Linked DNA regions of Homo sapiens: region 2 is linked to region 1. The links are contacts of gene promoters, found by promoter capture Hi-C in human tissues and cell types (Jung and others, 2019). All regions are on one chromosome and are shown on one strand. The core of a region is centred on a gene start or on the middle of the fragment in contact, and the rest is flanking DNA. Distances in the headings are between cores, read along the strand shown.

Region 1 (3,808 bases), core at 1,302-3,801:
AAGTTCTAGGATTACAGGCGTGAGCGACCGCACCTGGCTTCACGAGTGATTTTCAATCCTGGATGCAGATTAGAATGACGTGTGAAGCTTTAAAAATCTACTGGTGTCTGGATCTCACCCTTGGAGACACCAATTTAACTTGCAGGAGGTGTGACTCAGGCTGTCACATTTTTAAACTGCGATTTTAACATGCAGCCTGGTTGGGAACCACATGCAAGAGACCCATGAGATAGTCTTCTTCTCGTTTTACAAATGATGAAAGTAAAAGTCAGAAGGATAAAGTAATTTTCACAAAGTCACACATTTATTATTAGCAGTAGGTTATTTGAACTTGCATCTACCATTTTCCCACAATACCACGTTGCTTTGCAGAGGCTTTTGGAAGTCTGATGTGCTCCACTTAGCTTCTGTCTAGGGGAGTCTCAAACTCAGAAGCGTTAGGAAATTGCATGGTGCTGTGAGCTGAAGCCCTCCAAACAACAGTTTGGTGTTGATGGGATAGTGTGGTCTAATGAAGGCACTAACTGCCTGATCCTCTCTCTGGATTCTTTTTTTTTAAGACAAGGTCTTGCTTTGTTGCCTAGGCTGGAATGCCGTGGCATGATCACAGCTCACTACAGCCTTGAACTCCTGGGCTCAGCTGGGACCAGAGGTGCATGCCACCATGCCCAGCTATCTTTGTATTTTTTGTAGAGATGGGGTTTTGCCATGTTGCTCAGGCTGGTATTTTTATGTTTTGTAGAGACGGGGGTCTCCCTATGTTGCTATGAACATTCATGTCAATTTCAATTTTTTAAAAATTATTTCAAAAGAAACTCATTGTAATTGTTTGTGTTAAAAAATGATAACTTGCCCAGGTGCAGTGGCTCATGCCTGTAATCTCAGCACTTTGGGAGGCCAAGGCGAGTGGATCACTTGAGGTCAGGAGTTTGAGACCAGCCTGACCAACATGGCAAAACCCCGTCTACACTAAAAATACAAAAATTAGCTGGGCATGGTGGTGGGTACCTGTAATCCCAGCTACTCAGGAGGCTAAGGCAGGAGAATGGCTTGAACCTGGGAGGTGGAGGTTGCAGTGAGCCAAGACTGTGCCACTGTACTCCAGCCTGGGCGACACAAGACTCTGTCTCAAAAACAAACAAACAAAAACCTTAAGCATACACATTAAAAATCTACCAAAACTTTTTAAAATTGAGTTTTGGCACTTCATTTTTAAAAATATAACTGGGGTCTCAAAAAGGAGTAACGAGGCCGGGCGCGATGGCTCACGCCTATAATCCCAGCACCATGGGAGGCCGAGGCCGGCAGATCATGAGGTCAGGAGATTGACACCATCCTGGCTAACACGTTGAAACCCCGTCTCTACTACAAAAATACAAAAAATTAGCCGAGCTTGGTGGCGGGCCCCTGTAGTCCCAGCTACTCGGGAGGCTGAGGCAGGAGAATGGCGTGAACCCGGGAGGCGGAGTTTGCAGTGAGCCGAGATCGTGCCACTGCACTCCAGCCTGGGCAACAAAGACTCCGTCTCAAAAAAAAAAAAAAAAAAAAAAAAGAGTAACCAGCTTGCTCTTGACCTCTGAAAGGCTCTGTTGCTGCCTCCAACAAGAAAAGCCCATTTTATCCAATTAGACAACAAATCCCCAAAGTCAGAAAAACCACGTGATATTTGCTGGCATATCCATGATGACTACTAATTATGTATTTGGTAAATGTTTGCTGACAATATAGCCCATCAAGAAATGATGGGAGGCCGGGCGAGGTGGCTCACGCCTGTAATCCCAGCACTTTGGGAGGCCGAGGCGGGCGGATCACGAGGTCAGGAGATCGAGACCATCCTGGCTAACACAGTGAAACCCCGTCTCTGCTAAAAACACAAAAAAATTAGCTGAGCGCGGTGGCAGGCGCCTGTAGTCCCAGCTATTCGGGAGGCTCAGGCAGGAGAATGGCGTGAACCCGGGAGGCGGAGCTTGCAGTGAGCCGACATCGCGCCACTGCACTCCAGCCTGGGCGACAGAGCCAGACTCCGGCTCAAAAAAAAAAAAAAAAAAAAAAGATGGGAAGGCTGGGTGCGGGTGGCTCATGCCTGTAATCCCAGCACTTTGGGAGGCTGAGGCAGGTGGATCACTTGAGGCCAGGAGTTTGAGACCAGCTTGGCTAACATGGTGAAACCCTGTCTTTACTAAAAAAATATTAATATTAGCCGGGTGTGGTGGCTCACACAGGTAATCCCAGCTACTCAGGAGGCTGAGGCGCGAGAATCACTTGAAAACCAGAGGTGGAGGTTGTAGTGAGCCAAGGTCATAACACTGCACTCCAGTCTGGATGAAAGAGCGAGAAACTCTGTCCCTTAAAAAAAAAGAAAACAAAGAAATGATGGGACAGGGTGAGGGTAGGGGAGAGGAAATTCTAACACAGGTGATTTCCTTCTGACCCACAACCCCCACTTTGCTGTTGGTCTGGCTGACGTGGTTCACAAGGGGGATGGTAACTTAGATGGAACGTGTAAACCAATGGAAACATGAACCTTGATTGAAAAATGAAAAATTTCTCTAGATCCTGACTAAGGCAAGGTCAGCATGTTTCTCCCACATGCTGGTCCAAACAGAAGCTTTCTTTTACGGCAGGATAGGGATCAGTCCCTTGTCTAATCAACCAGTGGAGTTAATGAGTATGGCAGAAGGAAGGGAGAGGAAAGATGACAAAAGGAGCAATGAAAAGGAAACACCTGACACATTTATCTTTGTGAGAAGTGAGAATCACCTGTAAATGCCTCAGCCAGGAAGGACAGGTAGGGCCCTTTATAAAAGGATTTGTGGAACTTCTGGAGTATTTTGTCATTATAACATTTTGTTAATAGATTAACAAGGCTGGGCGCAGTAGCTCACACCTATAATCCTAGCACTTTGGGAGGCCAAGGCAGGCGGATTCACTTGAGGTCAGGAGTTCGAAACCAGCTTGGCCATCATGGTGAAACCCCGTCTCTACTAAAATTACAAAAAATTAGCTGGGCATGTGGTATGCGCCTGTAATCCCAGCTACTCAGGAGGCTGGGGCGGAGAATCTCTTGAACCTGAGAGGCGGAGGTTGCAGTGAGCCGAGATCATGCCACCCCGACTCCAGCCTGGACAACAGAGCGAGACTCCATCTCAAAAAAAAAAAAAAAAAAAAGATTAACAAAAACATGGCTGGGCACAGTGGCTCAAGCCTGTAATCCCAGCACTTTAGGAGGGCAGATCATTTGAGCCCAGGAGTTTGGGACTGGCCTAGGCAGCATAGCGAGACCCCATCTCTACAAAAAATATAAAAATTAGCCAGGCGTTGTGGTGCATGCCTGTGGTCCCAGCTACTGAGGAGGCTGAGGTGGGAGAGTCACTTGAGCCCAGAAGGTTGAGGTTGCAGTGAGCCAAGATCTTACCACCACACTTCAGCATGGGCAACAGAGTGAGACCCCGTCTCAAAAACAACAACAACAACAACAACAAACACAAAACACAAAGAAACAAAACCGTGATAGTAAGGAGAGCAGATGCCTGCTTTTCTGTTGTGAAGAAACTTGGGAACCACTGTGGAAACAGGAGAGGGGAAAGGAGCTGTCATGGACCCTTGCTGAGCTCCTTCCTTCCCCCAGCCTTTTCTCCCATCCCTCCCCTTACCTGGAAGGTCCTCTCTCCTCCTCTCTGCCTAAATCTTGTGCCATCTCAGATCCAACACAAATTCCCATGTCTCCATGACGACTCCTGCCCCCCTTCCCTGAACTCCTACAGCACATCTGCTGTATACCACACAATTCTCACTAAATTAAGCATAT
Region 2 (3,807 bases), core at 1,146-3,645, 140 kb after region 1:
TTCTTGGACCTCAAAACTTCTTGCCTGGATCACTAGGACTTGGGGGTAGGCCACAGCTCCAAGCAAGCCTGATCATCCTGCTTATTATAGTAGTCTCCTGGGCCTAATGCAATATATTCCGGCCATGGCTTAACAATGTTGCACCGAGATTGTTTCAGTCAAGTGTCGCTTTTTTTTTTTTTTCTTTTAGAGGGAGTCTTGCTCTGTCGCTCAGGCTGGAGAGCAGTGGCGAGATCTCGGCTCACTGCAATCACCACCTCCCGGGTTCAAGCAATTCTCCTGCCGCCGCCTTCTGAATAGCTGGGATTACAGGCGCGTGCTGCCACGTTCAGCTAATTTTTGTATTTTTAGTAGAGACAGGGTTTCACCATGTTGGCCAGGCTGGTCTCAAACTCCTGACCCCAAGTCATCCGCCCCCCTCGGCCTCCCAAAGTGCTGGGATTACAGGCATTAGCCACCGTGCCCGACCAAGGTGCCATATTAATATGATCAGACAAACCTCTGCCTCCAGATCCTGGGGGTCTGGAGGGCATATGAAATGTACTAGGTTTACTAAAGGAGGTATCTGGGTTGGGGATGGACTGCAGGGCAGTTCTCTGGTTGGCCTTGGACTGACTCAGTTCTCCCCTCTTTCTCACTAGTAGTTCTCAAGCATAGAACGTGCTGGGAATGTAACATCCTGAGAGAGGGACGGACTGGCTGGAATAGCCCTGGCTCTATTCCAGCCCCTCCCTACAAACAGGATGTCTTTCAATGCTTTAACCCAGCAGTCACATGACCCCAGAGTACAAAACTCAGGGCAGCTGCAGTGCAAGTGGGGCACACACACATGAGATTCCATCACCCAGGCAGCATTCCTGAGCCTTGGGGGACTGGTTTCCAATGATTCTTAGGCTTCTGTCATTCTTTGCTGCCTATCTGTAAGTAATAAATCCAGTTCATGTAAATTGTTGTATTAAATATATGAATGTGTTTTCTCACTGGACTCAGACAAGTTGGTAACCAGCATACAGTGAACTTGCTTCATAGAGTCTAATACCTTTTTGTTCAGTTTATACATGTTTACTGAGCTGGGCATCACTATATGCTCTTCTTCCTTCTCCACCCTGCTATGTTCCCAGCTAGGTTGAGCTGTGTGGTTGGGTTTGGCCAAAGAGAGGCATTAGCAAGATACTGAAAAACAAGAGGAGAGTCAAGGGACTTATAGTCTCCTCCTTCCTGCCACAAACCATAGGTTCCTTCTAAAAAAGGTACAACTCCTATCAGACTGCCCCCTTCCCTTGAACCTTCAGATTCAGGGTTCTACACCGAATCTTGTTTCATTGTTTTTGTTTTTAAATCTTGCCCATGCCTTTGTAGATAGTACCTTTATAAAACTCTCCTCAATTACACAGGCTGAGAGTGCCACTTGCTTACTGCCAGAACTCTGTATGCATACAACCCAAAATGGACTCTGCCAGTGATTAGATTTGTGAGGTAAGAAACAAAACAAAACTTTCACTGGGTACTAACCTACAGGTGTGTCAGTGTAGTGTTTTTACACATTAGCCCATTTAATGGTCACAATAAGCCTTTTCAGATAAGAAAACTGAATTTAGAGGGTTATGTTTCTTGCTAAAGATCACCAGGTATTAATATTAAGGATCAGGGTCAGACCAGAACTCGGCTAGGTCTGCCTCCCTAAACATCTGCTTTGCTCCAGGTACCATTAGCCCTGGAAAAAAGGCTTGGTAAGGGACTGAGGGGTAAAGGACGGATTACGACCATGTTTCTCCAAGGGGTCACCTGAGTACAATCACCTGGGATGCTTTTTCAAAATCTAGATTCTTGGACTGTATCTCTCTCAATCCTTTAGCTCTCAGTGGTTTTTGTGCCTCTATTTCGACACTCACCACATTGGATTGCAGGAATAGTCATTAACTCTTTTTTTTTTTTTTTAGACGGAGTTTTGCCCTTGTTGCCTAGGCTGGAGTACAATGGTGCAATCTTGGCTCAATGCAACCTCTGCCTCCTGGGTTCAAGCAATTCTTCTGCCTCAGCCTCCCAAGTAGCCGGGATTACAGGCATGCGCCACCACACCTGGCTATTTTGTATTTTCAGTAGAGATGAGGTTTCACTCTGTTGGTCAGGCTGGTCTTGAACTCCTAACCTCAGGTGTGATCCACCCACCTCGGCCTCCCAAAGTTCTAGGATCACAGGCGTGATCCACCGCCCCCGGCCGGATTGGTCATTAACTCTTATTTCAGCAGATACTCTTTCATTTGGGACACTGGTGTATTTGCACAAATTCTAGGCGCCCCACGCAGCGGCCTGGAGCCTGTCCCCAAGTCCAACCAATGGGAGTAGTGTTAAGGGCTCCGCCCTCGACTACTTTCCAGCGCTCGGCAAAGCCGCCAGGCCCGCCCACTGACTCCGCGGAGCTGGGTCGCCCCTGTTCTACCCAGATTGGGATGGCAGCGACGCTGATCCTGGAGCCCGCGGGCCGCTGCTGCTGGGACGAGCCGCTGCGCATCGCAGTGCGCGGCCTGGCCCCGGAGCAGCCAGTCACGCTGCGCACGTCCCTGCGCGACGAAGAGGGCGCGCTCTTCCGGGCCCACGCGCGCTACCGTGCCGACGCCCGCGACGAGCTGGACCTGGAGCGCGCGCCCGCGCTGGGAGGCAGCTTCGCGGGGCTCCAGCCCATGGGGCTGCTGTGGGCGTTGGAGCCCGAGAAAGCCTTGGTGCGGCTGGTGAAGCGCGACGTGCGGACGCCCTTCGCCGTGGAGCTGGAAGTGCTGGACGGCCACGACACCGAGCCCGGGCGGCTGCTGTGCCTGGCGCAGAACAAGCGCGACTTTCTCCGGCCGGGGGTGCGGCGCGAGCCGGTGCGCGCGGGCCCGGTGCGCGCCGCGCTCTTCCTGCCGCCGGATGAGTAGTCTGCCCAGAATTTGGTCGAGCTCTGCGACCCCCACCGGCCCCTTTCCTGTCCTGGGAATCGCGTGATTGTGGAACATCCCTGAACTTGTTCCTTCGCTCCAGAGTCTGTCATGGATTCTGAGTCTGGGCGTCCGCTGTTGCCCAGGCTGGAGTGCCGTGGCTGGATCGTAGCTCACACTGCAGCCTCGAACTCCTGGGCTCAAGTCCTCTCGCCTCAGCCTCCTGAGTAGCTACTCCAGTCTTTCCTTTTTAAGTTTCACGTCCCTCCCTGGAGGCACCACCACTTTAGCTATGTGCTGAATAGTGCATTCAACTTATTATATATTTATTGAGAGCCACTATGTGCCAGCCATGTGGTTTTGTTTGAATACGATATGGGCAAAACCTTAAGCTGATGTGCAAGAAGGATTTTTGCCTCCTTTCACATCAAACTTCCAAAGAAGCTAAAATCCACAGTATTGGCAATGCCCTTTAATTGTTTAAAAACACACACAAAACTGCCTGACAGTCCTCTCCCTTCTATCATAAACATGCTGTACGTGGTTCTCAACCTGCAATGATTAGCCGCCCTCCCTGGGGGAAATTTGGCAATATCTGGAGACATTTGTGGTTGTCATATCTGAAGGGAGAGGTGCTATTGGCATCTAGCAGGCAGAGGCCAGAGATGCTGCTAAACATTCCACAATGCACAGGACAACCACCAGAACAAAGAATTATCTTGCTGAAAATGTCTGTACTACTGAGGTTGAGGAACCCTAGTCTAAGTAAACACAGGATGTTTGCTAGGTAAAGGTAGCCCAGAAAGAAGACTCCTGATTAATCCCTTCTAACTAAATTCCTGACTTAAACCTCTACCATATAAAAATGATGAGCCGGGCACAGTGGCTCAGG

The links. Contacts are between HindIII fragments. The study calls those that stand out against the background at their distance.
Region 2: the fragment with the promoter of ACOT6 here is called in contact with a fragment that was not itself captured in region 1 in 4 of the 25 tissues and cell types used here (IMR-90 fibroblasts, adrenal gland, lymphoblastoid cells and 1 more).

Annotation. Positions count from the first base shown.
Region 1 is chr14:73,472,684-73,476,491 of GRCh38, forward strand. No RefSeq gene overlaps it. Among named protein-coding and RNA genes, the nearest start is that of NUMB, 16 kb to the left of the region's middle. The HindIII fragment of the contact is 5,447 bases long and covers 1-3,808 here.
Region 2 is chr14:73,610,122-73,613,928 of GRCh38, forward strand. It overlaps ACOT6 (acyl-CoA thioesterase 6), which reads left to right and starts at 2,396. Exons shown (of 3, transcript NM_001365788.1): 1 at 2,396-2,911. The coding sequence starts at 2,451. It also overlaps a transcript of HEATR4 not described here. RefSeq lists enhancers at 2,507-2,556, 2,574-3,073, 2,607-2,656 and a silencer at 3,732-3,807. The HindIII fragment of the contact is 22,654 bases long and covers 1-3,807 here.